Regions from separate parts of the Homo sapiens genome. Here region 2 is linked to region 1. Evidence: promoter capture Hi-C in 16 types of primary human blood cells and fetal thymus (Javierre and others, 2016). All regions are on one chromosome and are shown on one strand. Each heading gives the region's core, a stretch centred on a gene start or on the middle of the fragment in contact. The rest is flanking DNA. Distances are from core to core; before and after follow the strand shown. Region 1 holds the start of ZNF615 (zinc finger protein 615). Region 2 overlaps ZNF525 (zinc finger protein 525).

Region 1 (6,923 bases), core at 2,346-4,845:
ATTTTTAGTAGAGACAGGGTTTCACCATGTTAGCCAGGATGGTCTCTATCTCCTGGTCTTGTGATCCACCTGCCTCGGCCTCCCAAAGTGCTGAGATTACAGGTGTGAGCCACCACGCCCGGCTGACATTGGGAATTACATTTCAACATGAGATTTGGACAGGGACAAATATCCAAACTATATCATTCAGCCCCTGGTCTCCCTCCCCAACAAATCTCATGTCCTCACATTGTAAAATACCATCATGCCTTCCTAAGAGTCCCCAAAGTCTTAACTCATTCCAGCATTAACTCAAAAGTCCAAAGTCTTATCTGAGACAAGGCAAGTCTCTTCTACCTATGAGCCTGTAAAATAAAAAGTTATTTGCTTCCAAGATACAATGGGGGCATAGACGTTGGGTAAACATTCCCATTCCAAAAGGGAGAAAGCCACAAGAAAGGGCTATAGGTTCCATGCAAGTTCAAAACCCAGCAGGGTAGTCATTAAATCTAGTGCAAGGCGTGGGTTCCCAAGGCCTTGGGCATCCTCTGCTCATGGGGCTCCCTCAGGCAGACATCATGGTTTGCAGACAGCTGTATCCTTCCCAGGTGGCCCTACAGAGGAAGGCACACCCGACTTTTCCAATGTCCTGCAGACCCAGCTGTCTCAACTCTTATGGTGATCCAAGAGTGAGGGCCCCTCCCTACTTGGACACCACCCAAGCTGGCAAGTCCTGCTTGGCTAGGAGCAGGGATAAGCACTTGGATGGCAGATTAGGTGACCCCCACCCACTCATGGCATTATGTTTGTCCACAGAGTTTAGTAACAATTGGGACTGCTGGGCCGGAGGCTCTAGTGGTTGGATTTTGACTGGGGCTGCATGGTCTAAATAGCTTTTTTCACATATTTGGGCTTCTGCTGGAATGGATGAGGCCTTTATTTACACAGTCAACAAGAGGCTAGTCTGGGCTTTCTTACAATGTGTTGGAAGATCTCTAAGAGACAAGCAAGCCTTGATGAGCAAGCTTATTTCTCACCTCCATTTGTGTTACACTTGCTACTGTCCTATTGGACACATTAGTCAGTCACTATGGAGAATACTATCCAAAGATGTGAATATAGAGATGCAAGAATAAATTTATGCAATAACCACAAAAGTATTTGTTTCCTTATAATTGTCAGATCAATACCATAAATATCCTTGCACATATTTGTTCTCACAAAGAAAAGTTCTATTGAATCAATTCTTAAAATTCATGGCTCAAGGAGAAGGAAAAGTTTAAACTGGGTAATAACAGACTGTACTACAAAAACATTTTACGAATTTATATAGAAACACAATCCTATACCTAGAAATAATGTAATGCTTAAGAACTTCGAATTATGACCAGTATGATAATATCTCAATTCATTTAAAGCAGTATGTAATTGACAACATTATTACCTACCATGCAGAAAAAGAAGACTTAAAGAGGCTTAGCATAACAGAATGCCTTTGTTCCATGGCCTTATAATCTAAATATGATTTGTCATTCAATCTTTACAAATCTTAATAAGGGTTAAAACATTTATATTTCACGTTTACTTTGCATTTGTTTGAATATTAGTAAAACTGGTATTTTTTAAATTGTTTAGGATCATTTACATTAAAAAAAGTGTCCTGTTTATTTCCTTCATGTATTTATAGAAAATTTTAGGGAGCTTTTAAGTTGATCATCTTTTCCTTATTTTTATTTATTTTTTTTTTTGAGACAAGAGTCTCACTCTGTCTCTCAGGCTGGGGTGCAGTGGCATGATCTTGGCTCACTGCAACCTCTGCCTCCTGGGTTCAAGCGATTCTCGTGCCTCAGCCTTCCAAGTAAATGGGACTACAGGCCTGAGACACCATGCCCAGCTAATTTTTTTTGTATTTTAGTAGCTATGGGGTTTCGCCATGTTGGCCAGGCTGATCTCAAACTCCTGAACTCAGGCAATCCTCCCGCTTTGGCCTCCCAAAGTGTTAGGATTACAGGCATGAGCCACCGCGCCCATCTTTTTTCTTATTTCTTTTCAGATCTCTTTATAGGCCGGGTGAAGGGTGAAGTGGCTCACACCTGTAATCCCAGCACTTTTGGAGGATGAAGTGGGAGGACTGCTTGAGGCCAGTTCAAGACCAGCTGGGCATCATAGTGAGACCCTTGTCTCTACAGAAAATTAAAAAATTAGCCAGGTGTGGTGGTGCCCACCTGTAGTCCCAGCTATTCAGGAGCCCAGGAGTTCCAAGTTACAGTGAGCTGTGATCTCCCCAGGCACTCCAGACTGGGCAACAGAGTGGACCTTGCCTCAAAAAGAGACAAAAAAAAAACAAAAAAAAAGAAAAACTCTCATATACCAAGGGTGAGAAGAGCAAATGGAACACGAACTTGACTCTGAAAAATAGTTTGACAATTTCTCTGTATATTTATATACTGATACCTATATCACACACATAGATTCACACAGGCATTTCCTTTCTCTCATTCTTCTAATATAGGAAGTTTGGTTGGATTTATATTTACAGTTCAGCATTGCCATGACTTTGCACATACTATTCGCGGTTGGCACACGTAGTATAACGTGATCTCCTTCTTAACCTTTCTTTCTTTTGTTTTTTTTTTGAGATGGAGTTTTGCTCCTGTTGCCCAGGCTGGAGTGCAATGACGCCATCTTGGCCCACAGCAACCTCCGCCTCCCGGGTTCAAGCGATTCTCCTGCCTCAGCCTCCCGAGTAGCTGGGATTACAGGCATGCGCCACCATGCCTGGCTAATTTTGTATTTTTAGTAGAGACAGGGTTTCTCCATGTTGGTCAGGCTGGTCTCGAACTCCCGCTCTCAGGTGATCCGCCCACCTCGGCCTCCCAAAGTGCTGGGATTACAGGCGTGAGCCACCGCGCCCGGCCTCTTTCCCAACCTTTTTTTTCTCACTGAAGTGGTCCTGTTCCCTTAATTTCTGGCCACTTCTCCTGAGTCCAGCCCTCATATTTGGCTCCACCTGGGTCCCAGGCTCTCCCCTCCGCCTTGGGAACTATACTTTCTGGCTTTTACTGGCTTTTCCCCATGCCTTTCACCCAACATAATTTTGGCACGTTCCAACCGTTTTCATTACCTAGTCTGTGACTGCTACCCCTGTTCCGTCAGCGTAGCTAACAGCCCTCTTCTGCGTTCAAAAGGCGCTTCAAGCTACTTTGTTAGAAATCTGGCTTTGGCCGAAGTGTCCCCTCTCGGCCGGTTCTCCTTTTCCCTCACAAGGAACTGTTTCCTAACCTTTGTACAAAGTGTAAACGTCGCGGCCATCTTAGCCTTCTATTCAGCTGCTGAAAGGGATTTACCTCCACGCCATTTTTGTCTTGTGTAAACTGGAGCCTCTGTATATGGACCCGTATTTATGAAGGGTTGAGGTGCCAGGAAATGGGACAGTTTCAGTGCTCTTTCATCTTCCCGGCCATCCCCGGTCACCCCCGGTCACCCCCGGTCACCAGCGCCAAAACGCGCCCTTTGCCTTGTGTACGTCAGATACTCAAAGATGGCGGCCCCCATGGAGCCAAGGCGACGAGGGCGCGGCCATCTTGCATCTGCGCAAACGCTGGGAACGCCTCCGACCCTGGATAGTCGCCGTCAGGCACTGAGGAGGCCGAGAGATGAGGCCGGAGCCCACCAAGTTCTGGGAAGTAAGTTCAGTCACTGGGTGGTCGCTGTGGTGACGGGGGAGGAAATTCTGTCCGTGGCTGGGCGTGTTCGTGGACAGTGGTGATGGACTGGTATCTGTCGGCGCCAGCGTTTGGCGACGCCAGTGGAATTCTTTCAGGAGCTTAGCGTGGGTCCGATTCCTATCGCAGGGGAACTACAAGAGGTCCGTGATAGGGTGTGTGTGTGTGTGATCGGGGTACCTCTGGGACCAGTCACAGGGTCCTCGTGTAGTTTGTGGTTAAAGATCTCTAGAGATCCGCTACTGAGTGCCCAAGTCACATTCTGGTGTCTTTGGTGTTGTCCTTTGGCGGGGCTCAGTGATTGCGAACTGGAGGGTTTGTTTTGTCAGCGAATCGGTTTATGGTTCAGGTTTTGTTTGGGACTAAATGATTGAGGAACTGTCTTGGGGGTTAAGGTACGGAGGTTTCTGATCCAGGTTTTGGAATTAATCCCGGTGGCGGTGGTGGTAGCGCCACAGATTCCGATGTGGGCTGCAGCTCTGGAGGCCTGGGAACCATGGCAGGTGATGGGTTAGCCCCAGCCCTGGCTGCTGGAACAGAATTGATGCTCATTAGCATTCCCCTTCTGCCCAAGACCCTTCTCCACGACTGGTTTTTAAATCCCCTTTGGCACCTTCCATCACCCCTTGGTCTTGAATCCTCAGAAATGGAAGTTTTTGGCGAGATCAGTCATCTAGCATACCTAAAAGTAGTATGTTTTATATTTAAGATGCGGCTTCTACCCTTTGTCCTGCAAGTTTCCAGCGTATCCTCTTGGATATTTCTTTTCAGGTTCTTTCTGACACAAGTAAGATAACATCTCTGCCATGGTAAGCTCGGTTACTCAAAGATAACCTTTGTCAAATTTTCAGAATATTTCAATTTTAGACGTGTATGTTATGTGCTTAATATTCATAATTCAGATAAATTATGTAAATGGTACTATTATCTTTTTCGCTTTATATTATGTAATAAACATTTAGAAGTTGTTTTTACTGTTTGAGCCGGTGGTACTATAAGTGCATTCACATTAAGTTTATGCGTACATTTGGATAGAAGTGAAATGTTTTAAAATGTTTAGGTATTATTTTTAGGAACATTTTATGATTATCCATTTATCCATGAATTTTGTTTTTCCTGCCTTTAATCTTCAATCTAGACTATTACTTTTATTGCAGTGTATTGCTTTCTGACTCCCCTTTCCTTATAATCTATAACAAAAGATAAATTAATTTTAAATATTTATTTTATATTTGGTCATCTTAATTCTTAGTATTACAATATTTTTCTCTCTGCCTAACATATTATTTTGTGAAAATTTTTGAACCTATGGAAATATTGAAAGAAGTTTAATGTTAATACCAATATGCCTACCACCTAGCTTTTACCATTAACATTGTATTAGATCAGCTCTACTGGTTTTCTAAGTATTCATCCATTCCTCTGTTTGTGAATCATTCCTTATTTGTTGTCGATTTTGGTATATTTCAAAGTAAGTTACAGACATAAGTACCATTCCTCTAAATAATTCTGTATATGATTAACTAGAATTCTACTAATAGCCCTTTAATTGCTTTATTTATTTACTTAATAGGGAGGCATCTGATTTACAGATAATTTTGGTTCGGTATAAAGTAGAGTAAAAGTGGATTTTGAAGTGAAACAAAAGTGGATTTTCAGCCCTGATTCTGCTTCTTGCTCATTGTGTGATTGGCATAACTTGTGTCGCTTTACTTGTTGGCCAAAAGAGGAGTTAAACATCTTTTCCTCACGATTATCTCTGAGGATTATTTTTGGTTTTGTCTTTTGTAAAATTTGTATTTATATTCATTTTTTTCTCTCCCTTCCTCCCGCCTGGTTTCTCTCTTTTTTCTATTAATGAAAACATTTAAAGCCGTAAACTTATATTACTGAACTACCATCAGCAATTTTATTTTAAATGTAGAATGCTAATATTTTTCTGATGTAAACCTGTGTTTTCCCTATGAAAAATCAAGTGAAGAAAGTAAAAATGACCTGTCAGATAGCACACTTTTGCCAATATTACCTTTTAAGAAAGTTTTAGGAATGGGGTTTTGGGTTACCAGGTATACCTTTATTGGCAATTTTCAATAGAATGTTAAATTGTTCCCAAGAAAGGTTCTGCTCTTAATACTGACTCGATCTGTATATGCTTTAGGAGGATATAGGATTTTTCTATTTAAATTTTGTATCCAGCCACCTGACTAAAGGAATACAGACGTATTAGGCAAATACTGATAATTTGCCCCTTATATTCAAAAGTCATCTTTGATTATTTTTTTATACTGCATTCTACTGAGTGACATTCTAGACCCAAATTCTCAACTCTGCCATTGTAATGTGATAATAGCCTGAGATGAAATGTCATGGAATGCATGTAGCTGTGTTCTTATAAGACTTTATTTACAAAACAGGTGGTCCAGGTCCTGGATACTATATTACTGACTCTTGATTTAGGTGACCATATGGCTTTTCTGCACAAATTCACAGTTGGGCAACTAGAGCCCATGGACTAAATCTCCCAGCACCTGTTTCTGTTAATAAAGTTTTGTTGGGACCTGGCCACAATCATTTGTCTATTTTTTTGTATGTGGGCATTTTTGAGCTACAACAGTAGAGTTGAGTAGCTGCCACGGAAACCATAGACCTCTCTTTTAACATGGAAATAATTTTTTAAAAATTAGTTTTATTGCTGACACTATTGATTACAAACAACATATAAACTTATTTGTTAATGTTATGGTAATTAGTATTTTATACTCTTCTGCTATGCAGATATCTTAAAATACGTTTTCATTTGCCATCCTCCTACTTTATATGTTCTTTTTTGTTGTTGTTGTTTTGAGATAGAATCTCACTCTGTCACCCAGGCTGGAGTGCAATGGCACAATCTTGGCTCACTGCACCCTCCGCTTCCTGGGTTCAAGCAATTCTCCTGCCTCAGCCTCCTGAGTAGCTGGGATTATAGGCACGCGCTACCATGCCCAGCTAATTTTTGTATTTTTAGTAGAGACGGGGTTTCACCATGTTGGTCAGGCTGATCTCGAACTCCTGACCTCGTGATCTGCCCACCTCGGCCTCCCAAAGTGTTGGGATTACAGGCGTGAGCCACCGCACCCGGCCTATATGTTCTTATGGAATATTTTAACACTATATATATTAAAACTTCCTGATATATTATTATCAGTATTATTTTTCCAGTCAATACTGATTTAGGCT
Region 2 (7,039 bases), core at 3,493-5,992, 1.4 Mb before region 1:
GCAAGCGTTCTCTCCAGTATGAAGTCTATGATGACATGCAAGCTTTGCTTTGCGATTAAAAACCTTGCCACATTCATTACACTTGTAAGGTTTCTCTCCAGTATGAATTGCCTTATGAATTACAAGGGCCGAATTTTGACTGAACATCTTACCACACTCATTACACTTGTAAGGTTTCTCTCTAGTATGAATTCTCCTATGACTTTCAAGGTTTGATTTGAATCTGAAAGCTTTATCACATTCTTCACATTTGTAAGGTTTCTCTCCAGCATGAGTTCGCCCGTGAACTGCAAGGTATGAACGATGTCTGAAAAATTTGTCACATTTATCACACTTGTAAGGTCTCTCTTTATTATGGATTCTCCAATGATTTGCAATAGTTGTAGCATTACTGAAGACGTGGTGACAATCATTACATTTGTAAAGTTTCCCTCTGCCATGGATTGCTTGATGGTAAATAAGCGCTGACTGCCTATGAAAGGTTTTGCCACACTCATTGCACTTCTAAGGTTTCTCTCCAGTATGACGTCTATGATGGCATGTGTTAACTCCTTACTGAAGGTCTTGCCACACTCATTACACTTATAAGATTTATTTCCAGTATGAAGTCTATGATGGCGTGTAAGGCATGACTTCTGACTGAAGGTCTTGCCACACTCATTACACTTGTACGGTTTCTCTCCATTATGAATTCTCCTATGTCTTTCAAGATTTGATTTGTATCTGAAAGTTTCATCACATTCTTCACATTTGTAAGGTTTCTCTCCAGTATGAAGTCTATGATGGCATGTAAGGGATGATGTATGACTGAAGGTCTTGCCACACCTATTACACCTGTAAGGTTTCTCACCAGTGTGAATTCTCCTATGTCTTTCAAGGTTTGATTTGAAACTGAAAGCTTCATCACATTCTTCACATTTGTAAGGTTTCTCTCCACTATGAAATTTATGATGGTATACAATGGATGACGTATGACTGAAGATCTTGCCACAATCATTACACTTATAACATTTCTCTCCAGTATGAATTTTCTGACGTATTTCAAGATTTTATTTGAAACTGTAAGCCTTGTCACATTCTCCACACTTGCAAGGTTTCTCTCCACTATGAAGTCTACAATGGCAGGTAAGGGATAACTCCTGACTGAAGGTCTTGCCACACTCATTACATTTGTACAGTTTCTCTCCATTATGAATTCTCCTATGTCTTTCAAGACTTGATTTGAAACGGAAAGCTTCATCACATTCTTCACACTTGTAAGGTTTCTCTCCAGTATGAAGTCTACGATGGCATGTAAGGGTTGACATATGACTGAAGGTCTTGCCACAATCATTACACTTGTATGGTTTCTCTCCAGTATGAGTTATCCTATGACTTTCAAGGTTTGATTTGAAACTGAAAGCTTTGTCACATTCTTCACATTCGTAAGGTTTCTTTCCAGTATGAATGCTACGATGGCATGCAAGGTATGACTTCTGACTAAAGGTCTTGCCACACTCATTACACTTATGTGGTTTCTCTCCAGTATGAATTCTCCTATGTCTTTGAAGGGCTGAATTGTGTCTGAAAGCTTTGTCACATTCTTCACATTTGTAAGGTTTCTCTCCAGTATGAAGTCGATGATGATATGTAAGGGATGACATCTGACTGAAGGACTTGCCACACTCATTACACTTGTAAGGTTTCTCACCAGTGTGACATCTACGATGGCGTGCAAGGTATCGCTTCCGAATAAAGACCTTGTCACATACATCACATTTATATTGTTTCTCTCCTAGATGAATAATCTGATGTTTCCTTAAGAGTGAGCTATAATTAAAGGCTTTGCCACTCTCAATACATTGGAAAGATTTTTCTCTCATGCGTACTTCCTGTCTTTGTGTGAGTAATGAATAATTCAGAAAATTATCCCCATAGTTATTAGATATATGGGTTTTGGGCCTACAAGAAATTCTTTGGGCTGTTGAAACCGAGGAAGCATCGTTGATAGACTTCTCCACTTGATTATTAATTTTCCCTTTGGGCTGAAATATGTGGAGTTCAGACAGATGTGAATGAAAGCTTGATCCAAGCTGATATTTAATAGGCTTGTTTCCAGCATGCCTGTGATCATATTGCTCTGTACTACCCATCAATTTTTTGATTTTTGTCATGGGTGCTTCATGGCCATTTCTTTCATCTTCTTGCCACTGAAACTCAAAGTTATGAATATCTTTCTCAATTTCCTGGAAGGAAAAATCTCCAATGTGATGACGTTCATGTCTTTGCAATGTCCCTGTGTGGATCACTTCTGTATTGCCTTGTGCTGTTGATGAGAACTCCTTCATTGTGCATTTGGAAGAGATACCTACAAAATATAAACACTAATAGGTACACAAAAGACAATACTGATTTTAAACTTCCCAAACATGATCTTCAAAGTTTAGGAACACAAAATCGTAAGATTCTTTAATAAATAAAGGGCGATTACATGTGCTTCAAATTATTATTATGAAAGCTTATTTCCAATATCATGACAAAACACTGAAGGGCACAAACATGTGTAAGCCTAAAATAAGGAGTATTTTTCCACTGTGACCCTAAAGTGTCTAACAGTTTGCAAAAGACATATCACTGTCACATCAATGAAAAGTATATATTCTTCATATTTACAGCATACTTACTGTATACAAATAAATACTAAAGGACCACACAATATAATATACTGGTAAATAATCCACAGCAAGCTCATGTAAGGATAACCAAAATCAATGGAAATTCTGTATTGTTAAATAATCATAGCACTGAGAAGATAAGAAAAGTTTACAAAATTTAGCAAGGCATGGTGGTGCACGTCTGTACTCCCAGCTACTCGCAAGGGTGAGGTACAAGAATTGCTTGAACCCAAGAGGCAGAGGTTGCAGTGAGCCGAGATCGCACCACTGTACTTCAGCCTGGATGACAAAGTGAGACTCCATCTCAAAAAAAAAAAAATATTTTTCTGAATAACTGTCATAAAATTACCTATATCCATGCAGAAAAGGCATATTGTAACATTTAAAATTTTTTTTTTATTTTTGTATTTTTGAGACAATGTTTCACTGTGTCACAACAGGCTGGAGGGCAATGGCCTGATCTCAGCTCACTGCAACCTCCACCTTTTGGGTTCAAGCCATTCTCCTGCCTCAGCCTCCTGAGTACATGGGATTACAGGCACATGCCAGCATGCTTGGCTAATTTTTGTATTTTTAGTAGAGATAGGGTTACATCATATTGGCCAGGCTGGCCTTGAACTTTTGACCTCAAGTGATCCACCCGCCTCAGCCTCCCAAAGTCCTGGGATTGCAGGCGTGAGCCACAGCACCCGCTGGCACTTTGTGACATTAACTAGTAAACTGTGTCAGTTATATTGCATACCACATACCGAAAAGCTTTATGTAAAATCATAAAAATGAATTGGTAAAATAACTGTAACGCATAAAACCAGCAAGCAAATCATAAGTACATTTATACAAACTGCAGAATTCTAAACAATTCCCTGTTAAGAAAAAAGCACAACTTCTACTTACCACCAGCACACAATATAAGAACTGAAATACATGTTAAGATCACTACCTTCTGATGTATGAGGTCAAAAAAATATGCAGCATTATAATGAATAAGAATTCACTAACAGCCGGGTGCAGTGGCTCATGCCTGTAATTCCAGCACTTTGGGAGGCCGAGGTGGGAAGACCATGAGGTCAGGAGTTCAAGAATAGCCTGGCCAACGTGGTGAAACCATAACTCTACTAAAAATACAAAAAAATTAGCTGGGTGTGGTGGCGGGTGCCTGTAATCTCAGCTACTCAGAAGGCTGAGGCAAGAGAATCGTTTGAACCCAGGAGGTAGAGTTTGTGGTGAGCCAAGGTCCCACCACTGCACTCCAGCTTGAGTGACAGGGTGAGACTTCGTCTCTAAGAAAAAAAAAAAGAATTGACTAATAGTGCCGGAGGGTGCAATTATGATGTCACAACTACATTTATGAAACAGCCAGGCAATACAGCAATTCTATATATATATATACATTGCCCTATGTATCTAGTTCACTATGCATAAAATATAAAACATAGAATGTGTACTGGGAAAATTTATAAACTGAGATCAGAGAAAACATTGTATGAAACAAATTAAACAATAAAAACATAAATAAGATGATGCAGGCTCCCTGGTCTGAATGTTTGTATTGGCCAAACGCCATGTTCAGAGTTCTTATTCTCCAATAGGATGTTCCTGCAGATGGGGCCTTTGAGACAATTTGGTCACGGGTGTTGACTACTCGTGAATAGGACTTGTGCTTTCATAAAAAGAGACATTAAAGAGCTCGTTGCCTGTTCCTGTTTCCACCATGTCAGGACATGGCAGGAAGATGGCTGGGCTAAACCATGAGGAAGGCTCTCACCAGGAACCAATGTGGCTGGCACCTTGCTCTTGGATTTCCCACTTTCCAAACTCATGAGAAATAAATTTCTGTGTCTTAAGCCTCCCAGTTTAAGCTATTTCTTTTTTTGTTTGTTTTTGAGACCGAGTCACGCTCTATCACCCAGGCTGGAGTGTAGTGGCACGATTCTCCTGCCTCAAGAGATTCTCCCGCCTCAGCCTGTAGTCTCACTTTGGTGCCCAGACTGGAGTGCAGTGGTGTAACCTTGGCTCACTACAACCTCCACCTCCCGGGTTCAAGATTCTCCTTCCTCAGCCTCTCGAGTACTTGGGATAACAGCCATGTGCCACCACGCCCAGCTAATTCTTGTATTTTTAGTAGAGACAGGGTTTCACCATGTTGGTCAGGCTGGTCTCAAATTCCTTAACTCAGGTGATCCGCCCCTCTCGGCCTCCCAAAGTGCTGGGATTACAGGCTTGAGCCACTACACCTAGCCAATTTCTTGTATTTAGTAGATTCGAGGTTTCACCATGTTGGCCAGACTGGTCTCAAACTCCTGACTTCAAGCTATCTGCCCACCTCAGCATCCCAAACTGCTGGGATTAAGGCATGACCCACCTCAGCTGGCCAGTCTAAGCTATTTCTGACAGGACAGTGAAATGACTGAGACAGGAAAAGAAGCATCTCATGATTCACATCACTGAAGGCTGACAAATCTAATTAAACAAAGGAAGTTTAGGGCCTGTACTATAAATTTTGCAATACTTGAAGCCATCTAATAGCAATAACATGTTTTAAAAACTTTGAGGCCGGCTGAGTGAGGTGGTTCACACCTGTAATCCCAGCACTTTGGGAGGCTGAGGGAGGAGGATCATGAGGTCAGGAGATCGAGACCATTCTTGCTAACACAGTGAAACCCCGTCTCTACAAAAAACAAAAATACAAAAAATTAGCCTGGTGTGGTGGCACATGCCTGTAGTCCCAGCTACTTGGGAAACTGAGGCAGGAGAATCGCTTGAACCTGGGAGGCAGAGGTTGCAGTTAGCCAAGATTGTGCCACTGCACTCCAGCCTGAGTGACAGACCGAGACTCCATCTCAAAAAAAAAAAAAAAAGAAATGAAAGAAGCCTAAGAGTAACTCCAACCCACAAATATATATAAAATTCTCCAGTAAAGGTAAATAAAAAGACAGATAGGCCGGGCGCAGTTTTTCAAACCTGTAATTCCAGCAGATTAGGAGGCCGAGGTTGGCAGATCACCTGAGGGCGGGAGTTCAAGAAAAGCCTGACCAAAAAGGAGAAATCCCATGTCTATTAAAATACAAAATTAGCCAGGCATGGTGGCATATGCCTATAATCCCAGCTACTCGGGAAACTGAGGCAGGAGAATTGCTTGAACCCAGGAGTTGGAGGTTGCAGTGACCCGAGATTGTGCCATTGCACTCTAGCATGGGTGACAAGAACAAAACTTCGTCTCATTAATAAATAAATAAATAGGCAAATAAAAGGACAGATACAGAAACTGGTATATGTGTCCCTTCATAATTCAACTTTTTTTCCTATTATTTAGAAGAAAAAAGCATGAAAAAACACTGTACATATATGTTAATGAAAATGCAGCATACACAGAAATAATTCCGACATAAATAAAGTTCTGGTGGAGAAAGAGAAGCTTTTGCAGGTTGTGGAATCTTTTTTTCTTTGAGACAGAGTCTCACTGTGTTGCCCAGGCGGGAGTGCATGGCACAATCTCAGGTCACCACAACCTCCACCTCCAGGGTTCAAGTGACTCTCCTGCATTAGCCTCTTGAGTAGCAGGGATTACAGGCACCCACGACCGTGTCTGGCTAATTTTGTATTTTTAGTAGAGACGGAGTTTCACCACGTTAGACAGGCTGGTTTTGAACTCCTGACCTCAGGTGATTTGCCCACCCCCGGCCTTCCAAAGTGCTGGGATTACAGGCATGAGCCACTGGGGCACAAGAATTGTTTGAGCCCGAGATGTGGAGCCGGCTGCGGTGAGCCAAGATCGCCCCACTGCGCTGCAGCCTTGGCCACAGAGGGAGACTCCATCATAAACAAACAAACAAACAAAAGTAAAGAAGAAAGGAGTCAAAGCGTGTCTACACAGAAAAGCAATTAAACACAATAAGCAGGAAATGGAGAATGAAGAACAAAAAACAAACCTGAAAAAACAAAATAAGAACAAAATAACAACAAAAAAAATCAAGAAATACAGATAATATGTAACAAAAAGGCAATGGTAAGGTCTTCTGCATCAGTAATATTTCAAATGCAAATATTTAACTCTGCACTCAGAAGGCAAAGACTGACTCAATCAACAGGAACCAACTACTTGTTGTCCACAGAAGACTCATATTAGCCCTAAGGACACACATATGCAAAAAGTTTAAAAACAAAAGCCAATAGTTAGGTACGGGGGTTGGCGCCTGTAATCCCAGCTTCTTGGGAGGCCGAGGAGGATGTCTTGAGCCCAGGAGATCAAGACCAACTTCAACCGCACAGCAAGAACCTGTCTCTAAAAAAAGAAACTAAAAAAGTATCCTGGCATGGTGGCATGCACCTGTACCACTACGAGGGGAGGCTGAGGTGGGACAATCACTTGAGCCCAGGAATTCAAG

Evidence for each region. The method cuts DNA at HindIII sites, captures the fragments that hold promoters and counts their contacts. A CHiCAGO score of 5 or more calls a contact.
Region 2: a contact is called between a fragment that was not itself captured here and the fragment with the promoter of ZNF615 in region 1, in 1 of 17 cell types (naive CD8 T cells). The highest score is 6.6, in naive CD8 T cells.

The regions. Positions count from the first base shown.
Region 1 is chr19:52,004,883-52,011,805 of GRCh38, reverse strand. It overlaps ZNF615 (zinc finger protein 615), which reads left to right and starts at 3,595. Exons shown (of 7, transcript NM_001199324.2): 1 at 3,595-3,665; 2 at 4,476-4,513. LOC124904755 (a long non-coding RNA gene) reads right to left here and starts at 3,508. Exons shown (of 2, transcript XR_007067321.1): 1 at 3,327-3,508. RefSeq lists enhancers at 3,085-3,164, 3,225-3,834. The HindIII fragment of the contact is 6,775 bases long and covers 1,007-6,923 here.
Region 2 is chr19:53,376,030-53,383,068 of GRCh38, reverse strand. It overlaps ZNF525 (zinc finger protein 525), which reads right to left. Exons shown (of 4, transcript NM_001348156.2): 4 at 1-2,347. The coding sequence ends at 1,050. Among named protein-coding and RNA genes, the nearest start is that of ZNF525, 14 kb to the right of the region's middle. The HindIII fragment of the contact is 2,659 bases long and covers 3,413-6,071 here.